3 separate regions of the Homo sapiens genome follow, and all the other regions are linked to region 1. Evidence: promoter capture Hi-C in human tissues and cell types (Jung and others, 2019). All regions are on one chromosome and are shown on one strand. Each heading gives the region's core, a stretch centred on a gene start or on the middle of the fragment in contact. The rest is flanking DNA. Distances are from core to core; before and after follow the strand shown.

What was found. Contacts are between HindIII fragments. The study calls those that stand out against the background at their distance.
Region 2: a contact is called between a fragment that was not itself captured here and the fragment with the promoter of CCIN in region 1, in 3 of the 25 tissues and cell types used here (IMR-90 fibroblasts, hippocampus and neural progenitor cells).
Region 3: a fragment that was not itself captured here is called in contact with the fragment with the promoter of CCIN in region 1 in 2 of the 25 tissues and cell types used here (adrenal gland and lymphoblastoid cells).

The regions. Positions count from the first base shown.
Region 1 is chr9:36,166,491-36,171,214 of GRCh38, reverse strand. It overlaps CCIN (calicin), which reads right to left and starts at 1,827. Exons shown (of 1, transcript NM_005893.3): 1 at 1-1,827. The coding sequence starts at 1,712. RefSeq lists a silencer at 4,412-4,621 and an enhancer at 4,221-4,721. The HindIII fragment of the contact is 27,142 bases long and covers 1-4,724 here.
Region 2 is chr9:35,817,092-35,821,815 of GRCh38, reverse strand. It overlaps FAM221B (family with sequence similarity 221 member B), which reads left to right. Exons shown (of 7, transcript NM_001012446.4): 4 at 1,816-1,926; 5 at 2,422-2,619; 6 at 2,807-2,926; 7 at 3,310-4,724. The coding sequence ends at 3,347. Among named protein-coding and RNA genes, the nearest start is that of HINT2, 4.4 kb to the right of the region's middle. The HindIII fragment of the contact is 5,842 bases long and covers 554-4,724 here.
Region 3 is chr9:35,893,634-35,898,357 of GRCh38, reverse strand. No RefSeq gene overlaps it. Among named protein-coding and RNA genes, the nearest start is that of HRCT1, 10 kb to the left of the region's middle. RefSeq lists an enhancer at 2,469-2,968. The HindIII fragment of the contact is 7,635 bases long and covers 1-4,724 here.

The DNA.
Region 1 (4,724 bases), core at 578-3,077:
TCCAGTGCCTCTGGTGGAGGAGCCAGGGTCTTCCACTTGCCTGTCTTTTGGTCCAGCAAGAAGGCATTTGGATTGATGGTGTAGTCCTTTGTCTGGACATCGCTGGCAGTGGTGACACCCCCACATACAAACACCTTGCTGTCTCCAATGGAGCATATAGCATGGGACACATCCAAGGGGCAGCTGTTGGGCAAGACAGGCACTGAGGTGGTCGTCTTGCTTGCCTTCACCTTCTGCAGATTGATTTCCACACTCTGCCGGTGGCTGTGCACGCAGAGGATGTTGTCCTGTTGGAAAGAGAGCAGGGGCCGATGGTTGAACTCAATGGGGAAGGTGATACACTGGACCACGTCCCCAGTGCTGGTGTCAAAGCAGTCCACTACCCCGACCCGGGAGATATAACCTTTCACCAAGCACCGTCCAGTGACAATGTACAGATGCCTGTCTCCTTTAGTGATCACGGCGGTGCCATCCATGGGGATGCTCATCTTTCCTGCCAGGCACCAGACTTCCTTCCGCTCATCATAGCGATAGATGTTGGAGACATACCGCCTTGGGGCAATGCTCCCGCCCACTGAGTACACTGTCCCCCCACAGGTCACCATGGTGTGGAAGACAAGCCCGATGGGCAGGTCAGGCAACTTGGTCCAGGAGTTGTCATCCATGTCATACCGCCAGGCTGTCTTCAGCCCTGAAATCTGCTCAGTGGTGCCACCAGAGATGTAGATGTAGCGACCAGCAGAGGTGGCACTAAGTGCTGCTGCCCGATAGGGCATGTCTGAGAGCTTCATCCACAGGTTCTCCTGGATGATATAAGCAAACACTCCATCATTGAACTGGCCGTGGGCCTTCTGGCCACCGAGGATGACCACGGAATCAAGCAGGGCCCCTTTCCGCTGGTAGACCAGCAGGCTGCATGGCCGCTCCTGCTTGCGGTCCATCAGGACACTCTCAATCAGGGTTGTATGGGATGAGGTGTTCTCCATGCCCACCAGCTTGTTGCTGGCAAACACCAGCGTCTTATTGGAGACAGCATTGAGATTGATGTAATTGAAGAACTTCTTGAAATACTTCTCCCGATCCTCCTTCCGGAAGTACACCCAATTGATGAGTGCGCTGAGCGCCTGGTCTTCATTGAGCACGTGAAGGTTTTCATCACGGAGCAGGCGGCCAAAGATAACAGGTGGACAGCGCATGAAGTGCATGGAGCCCTCAGGACTGGCCCAGTAGTGGAAGTTGTCCCGAATGCCAGAGTAAGCTACGTCTGATACCTCTTTGAGCTCAAACAGCTCAGCCAAGAAGAGGTAGCGCAAGCAGTTGGCACGGCAGATGGACTTAATAAGGAAGTCGTTACAGTGAACTCGAAGGCGTGGTGTGTTGAAATACTGAGCCCCACGAAGCAGCTCCTCCACATTTTGCTCGGAGATCACCACCTTGCCGCTATAGAAGTAGTCCAGAAGCTGGTCCACTGTGACCGGGCTCAGGTAACTGGTGTCAATGGTGATGAAAAGCTCATCAGCGGTCTTCATGTCATTGCTGGAGATGAGGCTCCTCACCAGTGGGGAGACAGCAGCCAGCACATTGCGATGTGCAAAGAAGACGTGGTTGTCCACACTCAGGGCCATGTCCCAGTACTCTTTGCGTTTCCTCTGTCTGTTCAGGTTCTGCAGCACGAAGCTATTGTAGTTTTTCTCCGTGAATTCCAATTTCATGGTGCCTCTTGTCGGCTGAAACAGATCAGCAGCAGGTACTGGAGAGCAGACTTTCTCAGGCCTGTGGGATCAGATTGATGGTTGTTTGCAGAGCGGTTGACCAGGGAGAAGAGAGGGTGGAAGAGAGGATGATGTCATAGAGTGGATCAGGTCATCACAATGCAGGCCTCCCTGAGGCCTGTCTCAGAGGCACTGGGCCTTCCTCCCCTCTGATCTCTCCAACCTGCCAAGGCCACATACCCTAGCAGGACCTAAAGCCCTGGGCCCAGAGCTCAGGAGGAACCTCAGGGATGGGCGGCAACTTCCACCTGGGACTTTCAAACCGTAGTTAAAGGCTTCTGGAATATCAGAGCCAGTCTGGGTGGGGCAGTGGGGAGCAGTTTGTGTAGGAGAGATAAGGGGAGGTGGGGAAAGGGAAGAGATTATTAGACCTAGAAGAATCCTCCCATTTTGAGGGAAACTGAGGCCCAGAGAAGAGAAGGCACTTGCCCAAAATCACATAGCCAGTTGGAAGCCGAGCAGGGCCCAGAACCTGGGGAACCTCGCATTCTTCCTACCCTTCTGGAAGCTCCTGACTACCCAGCTTTCCCCAGTCTCTGACTCTCAACTCTCCAAGCACTCTTCCTGCCAAGGCTCCTGGGCATCAGAGAAAAGCTCTGTCCTTTGGCTTCTGACCTTGGTGGCCACAGACATCATTCTCCTTCAAAATGGAGAGGTGGAGGCCACTCCCTGGAGCAGGGATGAAGGAGTTAACCACAAACGGGGGCATGGGAGGGTCTTTAAAGACCGGATGATTTCAGCTCCTTGGCAAACTAGAATGTTCCCCCAACATTTCCAAGTGTCCAGTTGGAAAATGTTGGGGGCTTCAGTGGGTCAGCTTTCTCCATCAAAGGTGGACTTGGGCGAGTTGATCAGACTTTCTAAACCTCAGTTTCCTCCTCTGTGAGATGGAACTAATATTTGATAGTAGTACCCACTTCAAAGATTATTATGAGTTTATTTTTATTTTTATTTTTATTTTTTTGAGACAGAGTCTCGCTCTGTCACCCAGGTTGGAGTGCAGTGGTGCGATCTCAGCTTGAAACAGCCTTTGCAAAATTATGACTGAGACAGTGAAAGAGATCAACTTAACTGACTCCATCTTGCTTCTAACCTCCAAGCTGTCCTTGCTCATTCCTTGGCAAAGGCTGAACTAACTTTGGGAGAAACCTATATGTATAGTTTACGGTTTAAACAAAGACAGCCCTTTCCCAAAGCAGACCTCCTTCTTGCCTGGGGACTAGATTGCCTTTGTAGGACTAACATTAGCCACAAGATTAGAAATTATGGTTTAGGAGTCATGTAGCTGGAGGCTACAAGATTCTAACCCTCCCTAAACTGCTCCTAAGACCAGTGCTTGAGATTTCTCTTTTTTTTTTTTTTTAGACAGTTTCGCTCTTCTTGCCCAGGCCGGAGTGCAATGGTGCGTTCTCGGCTCACCACAACCTCCAACTCCCGGGTTCAAGCGTTTCTCCTGCCTCAGCCTCCTGAGTAGCTGGGATTACAGGCATGCACCACCACACCCGGCTAATTCTGTATTTTTAGTAGAGATGGGGTTTCTCTATGTTGGTCAGGCTGGTCTCAAACTCCCGACCTCAGGTGATCCACCTGCCTCAGCCTTCCAAAGTGCTGGGATTACAGGCGTGAGCCCCCGTGCCCGGCCGGTGCTTGAGATATTTTGCAGAACCTGCACTTGATGGATCAGCTGGCACCACTCAGATCAATAAACTGGCTCATCTGATCTTGTGGCCCCCAGACCCAAGAACTGACTCAGCCCAAGAAGACAGCTCCAACTCCCATGATTTCATCTCTGACCAATCAGCAGCACTCCTGGCTCACTGGCTTCCCCCTACCCACCAAGTTATCTTTAAAAACTCTGCTCCCCCAATGCTCCGGGAGACTGATTTGAGTAATAATAAAACTCCAGGCCGGGCGCGGTGCCTCATGCTTGTAATCCTAGCACTTTGGGATGCCAAGGTGGGCGGATCACCTGAGGTCATGGTTTCGAGACCAGCCTGGCCAACATGGCAAAACCCTGTCTCTACTAAAAATACAAAAATTAGTTGGGAGTGGTGGTGCATGCCTGTAATGCCTGTAATCCCAGCTACTGGGGAGACTGAGGCAGCAGAATCGCTCGAACCCGGGAGGCGGAGGTTGCAGCGTGCCCAGATCGCACCATTGCACTCCAGCCTGGGCGACAGAGTGAGACTCCGTCTCAAAAAAAAAAACCCCAAAAAACAAAAACAAAACCCTCCAGTCTCCCGCACGGCTGGCTCTGTGTGAATTACTCTTTCTCTGTTGCAATTCCCCTGTCTTTTATTACCCAACCCCCCAACCCCCCTCACCCCCCACCCCCAGTAGCTGGGATTACAGGCGCCTGTCAACATGCCCGGCAAAGTTTTGTATTTTTAGTAGAGACGAGGTTTCACCATGTTGGCCAAGCTGGTCTCGAACCCCTGACCTCAGGTGATCCGCCCGCCTCGGCCTCTCAAAGGGTTGGGATTATAGGCGTGAACCACCGTGCCCGGCCTATTATTAGAGTTTAAATGAGAAAAGGACTGGAGAGTAGTGGGCTTGTCATAAAGCTCAATCAATGCTAGCTGCCGTTTTCTTACTCATATTACACCAGTTCGCCCAGCGCCGGCGTTCGTGGCTGCTCCCTTCATAAAAACTTGTGGTCATCGTGGTTCTGGTTTCGCGGTAGCTGAGGAGGCTGTGGCTACCTCGCGTCTCTTCTGGGCCCGCCGCCCGAACCCAGTCCAGCCACGCGGTGGCGCTGGAGGGTCGTCCCCGCCCCCGAGCGCACCGCCTCTGCGCCGGGCACCACCCCAACCCCTCTCCAGGATGGAAAAGAGGCGCGGGGCGTCCCCTTTTTCGCTTTGCCTCCACGCGCCACCGTGCAAAGGCGGCAGCGCCGTGCCGTCCGCCGCGACCCTGGAATTCAAACGGCAGGATCGGGGGCTCTCAGCCTTG
Region 2 (4,724 bases), core at 2,225-4,724, 350 kb after region 1:
CTAACACTTGTAACAGAATCTGAAGTATAGTTGCCAGTCTCCCTGTTCAAACTCCAGTCTTCTTCATCTGAATGCTGGGCACTGATTCCTACACTAGTGCTTGGACTTGACTGCCCCCCGGCCCTCCGAGCAGGCCTTGATCTTTGGGCCTCACCTCCTGCTTTTTTAATGTATCCTGCTACTCCAGACAGAATTCGGAACTCCTCTAGTGGAATCCTGGCTCCCGCCCACCTGCATTGTGACTGCCTATACCTTGCTCTCTCAACAAAGCCTCCCTGGTGTAAGGGGGCACTGGCACTACAGGCAATCAGCATCAAGACAGAAGAAGCAAAGCCAAAAGCCACATCTAGACAGGCTTTAGATCCTGACAGACTATGGGTAAGACAAGAAAACTTAATCTGAGGCACGGAATTGTGAATTGTGGCCCTGACCACAGTCAAAGACCAGATGATGCCACTCTCCTTATTCATGTTATGGAACCTCAGGGTTATGCCTGAATACTGGCTCTCTCTTCCTCTTGAAGGAATGAGCTCAATTGTTTAATCAGGCAATCTACGTTCTCTCAGCAACCATTTTGTGCCAGGCCTTGTGCTAGGATGAGAGATACGGGTGAAAAGACAGCTCCCTTGAAGAACTCATGGACTAATAGGAATACAAGGGAATGATCTATTATAATGCAGTGTACTGCAACAGGAGTAGCACAAGGAGCTATGGATGGCAATAGGAGGGGCCCAGACAGACAGGGGAAGTCAGGGACACCTTTTTGGTGGAGGTGACATTTCAGTTGAGCCTTTAATTGGGACTAAGAATCCTACACCTGGCAGTCCCACTGCATGGGGCCTCATACAGGATTCTTGGCTAGAAGTTGGGGTACTCTCAGTTCTCATGGAGAATGAGAAAATCTGAATTGGAGGTGCCATCTGGTTATCCTCCCTCAGTTGCACAGCACCACCCTCACCTCAAGACTAGTCACGAAGCCAGGGATTCAGACCTCACTGCTGAACACCAGCTCTCGAGGGTTGTGACCTCTTGCTGGTGCCTACTCTCAGGGACACTTCTTAGCCTCACTTTCCTTTCCACGCCTCCTTGCTTAGCCTCAAAATATATAATTTTTGGTCTTCACCACTCATGACTGCTACCTACCCCTTTCTCCTGACCCTTGAAGAACCTTTGGCAGCCCTTCTTAGGTACACAGAGAGCATTGGTACAATAGCACCAGGAACACAGAGGGAGGTATTAAGGTACCAACGTGGAGACGTGAGAGGAAGCCCTCCTCCTACCTTCCAGCACCAGAGCTATCCAACCTCCTTCTCCTCTTCAGGACCTTCAATAAATATGCTCCTTAGGAGCCAATCCCATTGTCTGTACATCTGGCCAATCATCTTCCCTTTCCCTCACCTTAGACACTTCAAGAAAACAAAGCAAAGTTGGGCTTTAGTGGGATGAGGAGAGGAGATGAGAATCCCTGTGGTCACAGAGAACTCAGTGAGATTCATGTTCATCCTCAAACAAAATTTCATCTATAATCTTCCTGCTCAGAAACCACTCTCTTGAGTCATCTCTGGCAGGCTGACAAAGATGGAGTAGATCCTGGGTAGGAAGAGAACTGAAGACACTTCTGGGGTAATGAGAAAACCCTGAGGAAAAAGAAAATCTAAGGGGTAGAGGTGAGGACTTCCAGGTGGAGATAAAGATACCTGGGGGTGGGGAGAGGTAAGTTCCCCCCACCCCCTCACCTCCATCAAGGGATAGGTAAGAACACTTCGGGGGAGCTTAGAATTTTTTTACTTCTCACTTTTAATCCTGCATACCTAGGTCTCTACATTGGCTGGCGCTGCCCCCATTACCTATGGGACTGTTTCCGGATTGGGGATGAGTCCAGATGCTTTTGTGGACACTTGTTGAGAGAGCACCGGATCATCTCAGGTAGGGGAGAACTGACCAGCCCCTCTCGAGTGTGGAGGAATAACTGTACTCTGTCATGTCTTGGGAAGTATGAGAGAGAGCATGTGGCTGGGCACGGTGGCTCACCCCTGTAATCCCAGCACTTTGGGAGGCGGAGGCGGGTGGATCAAAGGTCAGGAGATCGAGACCATCCTGGCTAACACAGTGAAACACCGTCTCTACTAAAAAATAAATAAATAAATACAAAAAATTTAGCCAGGCATGGTGGCACGCACCTGTAGTCCCAGCTACTCAGGAGGCTGAGGCAGGAGAGTCACTTGAAGCCAGGAGGCGGAAGTTGCAGTGAACTGAGATCATGCCACTGCACTCCAGCCTGGGCGACAGAGCAAAACTCCATCTCAAAAAAAAAAAAAGCATGTCTGCGTGCATAGGGGGTGGTGGGGATGGAGGATGGGGTTGGCATGAGAAGGCAAGGTCCTATCAGATTAACCCTACCATCCATCCCCAATCCCACAGACATATCGGTGCCCTGCAAGGTAAGCCAGTGCCGCTGCTTCATGTTCTGCTTTATCCCATCACGCCCAGAGGAGGTGGGTGAGTTCTGGCTCAAGAGACGGGCCACCTTTGACCCCAAGGCCTGGAGGGCCCAATGTCGCTGCAAACACAGCCACGAAGAACATGCAGCCACTGGGCCCCATCCCTGCAGGCATCATGGTAACTTCTAGGGCAAGAGGTGTATTGGGAGCAGGGTAGGTGGGGATAGGATGCAATCTGGGGATAATGATGGAGAGCAGGTATGAGAGCCTTGGGCATGCGGTCACTGAGGAAGAGATGAGAATGTGGTCAGCTCCTGGGGATACCACCATTTCCTAAACTCTTCTTGGCTGCACTTTTGCCCCAGGCTGTTGCTGCGGCTGTTTTGAGTCTAATTTCCTCTGTGCGGCCTGTGACCGGCGCTGGGAGGAACACGAGACTTTCTTTGACACCCAGAAGACCCGGCAACGAGGAGGAAGGCCTCGCGGTGAGGCAGAAACCTGGGACAGGGGGCCATTCCAGGGTCTGTAGTCAGAAGGCCAGGCAGGAAGGCACTCCCATCCTCAACCATCCCTTCCAGGACTAGCGCGCTCCCTCAGCCCACCTCCCCACCACCCACCTACCTGCATCCCACATCTGCACTGGTTTTCACCCCCAGGAGCAGACTATGTACCTTTTGCAGAGATGGCTGTGCTCCGAGAAGCCATCCTCAGCAACTCTGACTTCTAGGCCCTGCAGATACAGGGGCCCTCTGGCCTTCCCAGCTCCCACCCTAGTCCCCCGGGGCTCCCTGGTTCACACGGTCTCCAGCCTGGCCTCCCTTCTGACCCCCATACCTGACCCTTTCACCTCTGCTCTTTCTTCCTCCAGGGACAGACACTGTCAGCAACTGGCACAGGCCTTTGTGAGTCTGGCCCAGATCAGCAATAAAAGAGGAGTCATTGGAACCTGACTTGGCTCTATATGGGGCAGGTAGATCCCAGCCCAGGGAGAGACTGCCTAATAACTTAGAGTTGACACCTATTAGACACAGGAGAAAGCCTGGATCTGGCCATCTGCCTCCATCACACTCACATTCAAGCTGCCTGTTGAAGGAAAGTGGCTTCAAGGAAGTCAAGAAGGGAGGAAGTTTCAAGAAGGATAGAGTGGGAAGTGATGTTAGATGCAGTTGGGGCACCAATAAGATAAAGACTGAAAAGTGTCCATTGGGTTTTGCAATTAGAAGATCTTTGGGAACATCGGAGAGTGCAGTTTCACACTGGTGCAGTGGAGGCAGGAGTCAAACAGCAGTGAGTTTCAAGGAGTCTCTTAAAGAAGCTTGGATGAAAAGTACAAAAGTAAAGTCAGACAATATCCAGAGGGAGTTGTGGAGTCAAGGAAGTACTTTTGTAGGAAGGAAAAGGGGAAGAGGCCAGTAGACTAAAGGACCTTGAAGGACCCAGAAGAGAGAGAAGAGATGCCTGGTGAGACAAGATCCCAGAGATGGAGGAAAGGGATGAGGTCAAAGCAGAGGTGAAGGGATTTTCTCTGGACAGGAGAAACACCACTTCCTATGACCAAGACGAAGGAAGAGGATGGAGCCTTCCTAGAGTTTCAGGGAACAAGAACCTGTGGAAGTTCCCCTCTGATGGCTTCTATATGCCCTGTGAAGTAGGAGATAAGGCCAATGGCTGGGGTCCAGGGGAAGAGGGATAAGAGTAGGGAGCAGGAGACAAGAAGAGAAAGGGGAAGGTTTGGGAAGGCTAATGTAGGGAACTGGAGAAAAACCTCATCAGTGGGTAGTTCAGGATTCGGGCACAGTTGGAAGTGAGAACCTAGTTAGAGAAGCAGAGAATCCAAATATTTAATGGGTTGATGATGTGAGGGTGTCAGGGAGGAAGATCAGGAAAACTAAGCAAAAGAAGGCATGAGGATGTGAAGGGAGCATACAGCACCAATAGGGAAAGAAAGTGATGCCAGGAGGCAAATGACAGATTGAAAAAGGGAGCAGTCAAAGGAAGAGAAGTCTCTAATGAGGTACAGTAGCAGACGTAGGGGCAGGGGTTGGAGTACAAGAGACAGTGTTCAGAGGCTGCAGAGCATAACATCTTTCAGATGAGGGCAAGTGAAGGTGATAAGTGCTTGAAGTAGAGAAAACTGTGGGCCAAGGATCAAAATCAGTGAATGTGGGAAGTCACAAGGGAGTCCATAGGTTCTTATGGGAGTAGGAGATTCCAGCACTAATGGGCTCTGTGAACCCAGGCAAGTCACTGTCCCTCTTTAGGCTGAGTTTCTGGACCTGTAAA
Region 3 (4,724 bases), core at 1,446-3,945, 270 kb after region 1:
GCCTGCTAACACAACTTCCATAATGCAGCTTATGAATCAAGGAGTAATTTCAATTTTCAAGTCATCTTATTTAAGAAATGCATTTTGTAAGGCTATAGCTGCTATACATAGTGATTCCTTTGATGAATCTGGGCAAAGTAATCTTTTGTGAAAGGAAGGCTTGATCAACATGGCAAAATTTATTAACAACTTATTTTAAGAAATTGCCACAGCCACCTCAACCTTCAGCAACCACCACCTTGGTCAGTCAGCAGCCATCCACGTCAAGGCAAAGTCCTCTACCAGCGAAAATATTACAAATCACTGAAAGCTCAGGTGATCATTAGCATTTTTTAGCAATAAGGTATTTGTTTTTTTGAGATGGAGTCTCCCTTTGTTGCCCAGGCTGGAGTGCAATGGCGTGGTCTCGGCTCACTGCAACCTCTGCCTCCCAGGTTCAAACGATTCTCCTGCCTCAGCCTGTGGAGTAGCTGGGACTACAGGTGCGTGCCACCACATCCGGCTAATTTTTTGTTGTTGTTGTATTTTTAGTAGAGATGGGGTTTCACTATGTTGGCCAGGCTGGTCTCAAACTCCTTACCTCATGATCTGCCCACCTCAGCCTCTCAAAGTGCTGGGATTACAGGCATGAGCCACTGCACCCAGCCAATAATGTATTTTTAAATTAAGATATGTACTTTTTAGACATAATGCTAATGCACACATAATAGACTATAGGATAGTGTAAGCATAATTTTTTATGCACTGAGAAACCAAAAAATTGGTATGACTCACTTTATTGCAGTGATTTGGAACTGAACCTGCAGTACCTCCAAGGTACTCCTGTGTTGCAAATGAGTAAAACAAAAAAAGTGTACTATTAGGAGGATACTCTTTTAACATTATTAAAAGGAAAAATATCTCAAACCAGTAGTCAACATCATGATTAATGGTGAAAAAAAATAGGCCTGTAATCCCAGCACTTTGAGATTCCTGTTGAAACCAGGAACAAGCTAGAATGCTTACTTCCACCATTTTTAGTTAGCTTAATACAATAACAATGTATAATAAAAGGTAGAAATATTAGAGATGATGTGACTACATATCTGGAAAACTTGAAAGAATATACTGGAGAACTATTAACACTAATAAGAGTTAATTTAAAAATTCAAATTTTTAAATAAAACTTAATTTAAATTTTTGACCAGGAGCAGTGGCTCATGCCCATAATCCCAGCACTTTGGGAGGCTAAGGCAGGCAGATCATTTGACTCCAGGAGTTCAAGACCACCCTGGCCAACATGGTGAAATCCCATCTCTAAATAATAATAATAATAATAATAATAATAATAATAAATTTAGATTCTAAAATTTAAAAATAAAAATACAAAATCGGTGATTTTCCTACATAACAGTAATTACTAATTCAAAGACAGAATGAAGGCATTATTGAAACTTAAAACAAAAATTATAAAACTTCTAAGAACAAACAAGAATAAACTTAACAAGAGATGTGGAAGACCAATGAACAAAAGAAAAAGCAAGTCTTCACTGACAGCTGTGAAAGAAGACCTGACTAACCGAAGCACCACACCATGTGTCTGAAAGGGAGGAGCCCGCATTATAGTCCAGGCTGCACTTCAGGGGATATGGATCCTGTGAGACTTGCAAACAACCTGCCACAAGCATCTGTTAAATAAATTCTTATATGCTATAGAGGTAATATTTTTGAAAAGTAGTAATATACTTTTTTTGAGATAGGATCTTGCTCTGTTGCCCAGGCTAGAGTGCAGTGGCATGATCAGAGCTCACTGCAGCCTCTACCTCCTCCCAAACAATCCTCCCGCCTCAGCCTCCCAAGTAGCTGGGACTCCAGGTGTGTGCCACCACGTCTGGCTAACTTTTTTATTCTTTGTAGAGACGTGGTCTCGCTATGTTGCCTAGACTGATAACCTGCTCTTTAAAGTTACTTTTCCAAATATGTAAGTTTCTTCCTAGTTGTTCCAGAGCATTTGTCTGGAGAGAGAGTTGAATTATTACAAAAAGAATGCAAGGAGAAGGACTTTAATATGCATGCAGTCTTTGACCTTCAAAATTGGACTTTGCCCTGTAAGTCAAGCCAGTTTCCTAAGAGGATTTTCCAAATTCTTTTTTCTCTCCCTTTCAACACACTGAATCAAGGACCAAACGAGGACCCAGCCCATGCAGATCTCCTATAACGTAGAAAGCTCCTCCATTCCACATGCGACAGCCATGTAGCCGAAGTTTGAAGCTCTAAGGTAGATGGAGGCCATGATATCCAGGCCTGGGAGAAGCCTGGTTCCTTCTGGCCCCAAAGGATGATGGGAAGGAGAGAGAAGAAAGGCATGAAGTGCAAAATGTGTGCAGCAGCTGCTAGGGAGCTTCAAAAACAAATGGGGAAGGCTACAGGAAGACAGGGCTAGAGGTGAATACACTGAGGCACTGATGTTATTTGGATGGGGAGTGTGGTCTGCAAAATCTAGGAATTCATGAAAATGTGACCTCATTTGTACATGCAGGGTGGTTAGTGCTGGCAATGTTTGTGTTACACCTATAAACACGCACAGACAGAAGTCTGAAGAGCTACAAGATGCAATCTTTATAGGGCTTCCTCTGAGCAGTGAGTTTGCAGGTGACTGCTTTTTATTTGGCATTTCTACATTTCTAAAACTTGCAACAATAAACATTTTACTTGTATAATAATGAAAGCAACAAAAGTTACAGCACCTTTAGAAAAATATTCAGAAGCATGCCCACCAAGTAGAACAGGTCTGCAAAGTGATCCACCTATTCACCAACGAAGAGAGCAGCTAGACCCCAGAATCATAAGCTTCATTGGTGTCATTTTAAAGATGCCAGCCAGGCGCGGTGGCTCATGCCTGCAATCCTAGCACTTTCGCAGGCCAAGGGCGGCGGATTGCCTGAGCTCAGGAGTTCGCAACCAGCCTGGGCGACACAATGAAACCCCATCTCTACTAAAATACAAAAAAATTAGCCAGGTGTGGCGGCGTGCGCCTGTAGTCTCAGCTACTCAGGAGGCCAAGGCAGGAGAATCGCTTGAACCCGGGAGGCAGAGGTTGCAGTGAGCCGAGATCGCGCCACTGTGCTCCAGCCTGGGTGACAGAGCGAGACTCTGTCTCAAAAAAAAAAAAAAAAGATGCCAACAGGTGGAAGAGGTCTCCTAGATTCACTGTCCTTGGGGATGTGTGGGAGCTGATTAATCCAAGGGGACTGCTTCTCCTGCCTTCCCTGGGCAGCATGTCCATGGGCTTTGAGACATGTATATGCAGTAAACATAGTGAACTTTCTTGAGCCTAAGTTTGCCCTCATGCACAACGAGGGAAGAACTGGAGACAGATTGAATCTGTGCAGTCTAAGATTTATTGCTCTCTGGATTTTCAAGTCTCTGTAATTTTCTGAAATCATTATCTAAAGATAATTGTGACACTTAGAATTATATTCATTGATATAACTAACATCTGTTGAACTAGACTCTGTGCCTGGTGCTGAGGCTGGGTAGAAAAAAGACAATCCATGCCTTCCAAGAGCTTTTTACCTAGGACAGGAGACAGAAATATAAATTATTACAACACACTGGGTAAATTCTGGGACCTAAATATTCACAAGGAAAGCACAAAAGGAGTCATTCATAAGCAATAATCTCCTTTCCTTTTCCTCCCCAACTATTTTAATAATTGCTAGAATAATTACACTTTACAAATGTATCTTTAGATCTCACAACAAACCTATTGTCCTCACATTACATAGGAGGCTTAGAGAGTTAAAGCTCTCACTGTTGCCCGGCATGGTGGCTCACCCCTGTAATCCCAGCACTTTGGGAGGCCAAGGTGGGTGGATCACCTAAGATCAGGAATTCGAGACCAGCCTGACCAACATGGTGAAACCCCATATCTACTAAAAATACAAAAAAATAGCTGGGTGTGTAATCCCAACTACTCAGGAGGCTGAGGCAGGAGAATCGCTTGAACCTGGGAGCAGAGGTTGCAGTGAGCCGAGATCGTGACACTGCACTCCAGCCTGGAGGATACAGTGAGACTCTGTCCCCCAAAATAACAAATAAATAAATAAAGCACCCATTCTGGGTCACGCAGTAGTAAATGACAGAGCCAGAATCAAGTGCAGACCTGTCTGACCCCAAAGCCTACCTCTAACCCAGAACAATATTGTGCTAGGCTGAGAGATGTAACCGAGTATGATGCTTCACTCAGAAAGCTTGCTCTCTGATGGGAAAGAGAAGTCATGTCTCCGAGAATCCACAGGAGAGGAAAATCAGGACACAGGCATAAGAGGATAATAAAGAGGAAAAGGAGAGAAGCTTTCAAGTTCTTTTGCCCTGAAATTTGAAAAAGCTCCTGATTAAGCTTTTGTAGAACAATGTTCAAAGAGATAATAATTTCCTGAGTGGGTTTTCAACCTGTCCTACACACATATAAAAAGAAACACTTCTAAAAAGTAGACAATAATCAAAAAATGTTATGGAGAGATGGTTGGATAGACAAATTGATATCTGATAACTGTAGCAAGTAGTTAATTATAGAGACTAGTGTTAGGTATATTCAACTGTACAATTATTTCAACCTTTCTGTGTGTTTGAAATATGTTTGAACTTTTCTCTATGTTTCAACGTTTCTATATGTTTGAAATAGAAGAAAACACACAAAAAATGTTGGGAGAAAAAAGTAGGCAATAGCTGTGGGAGAAAGT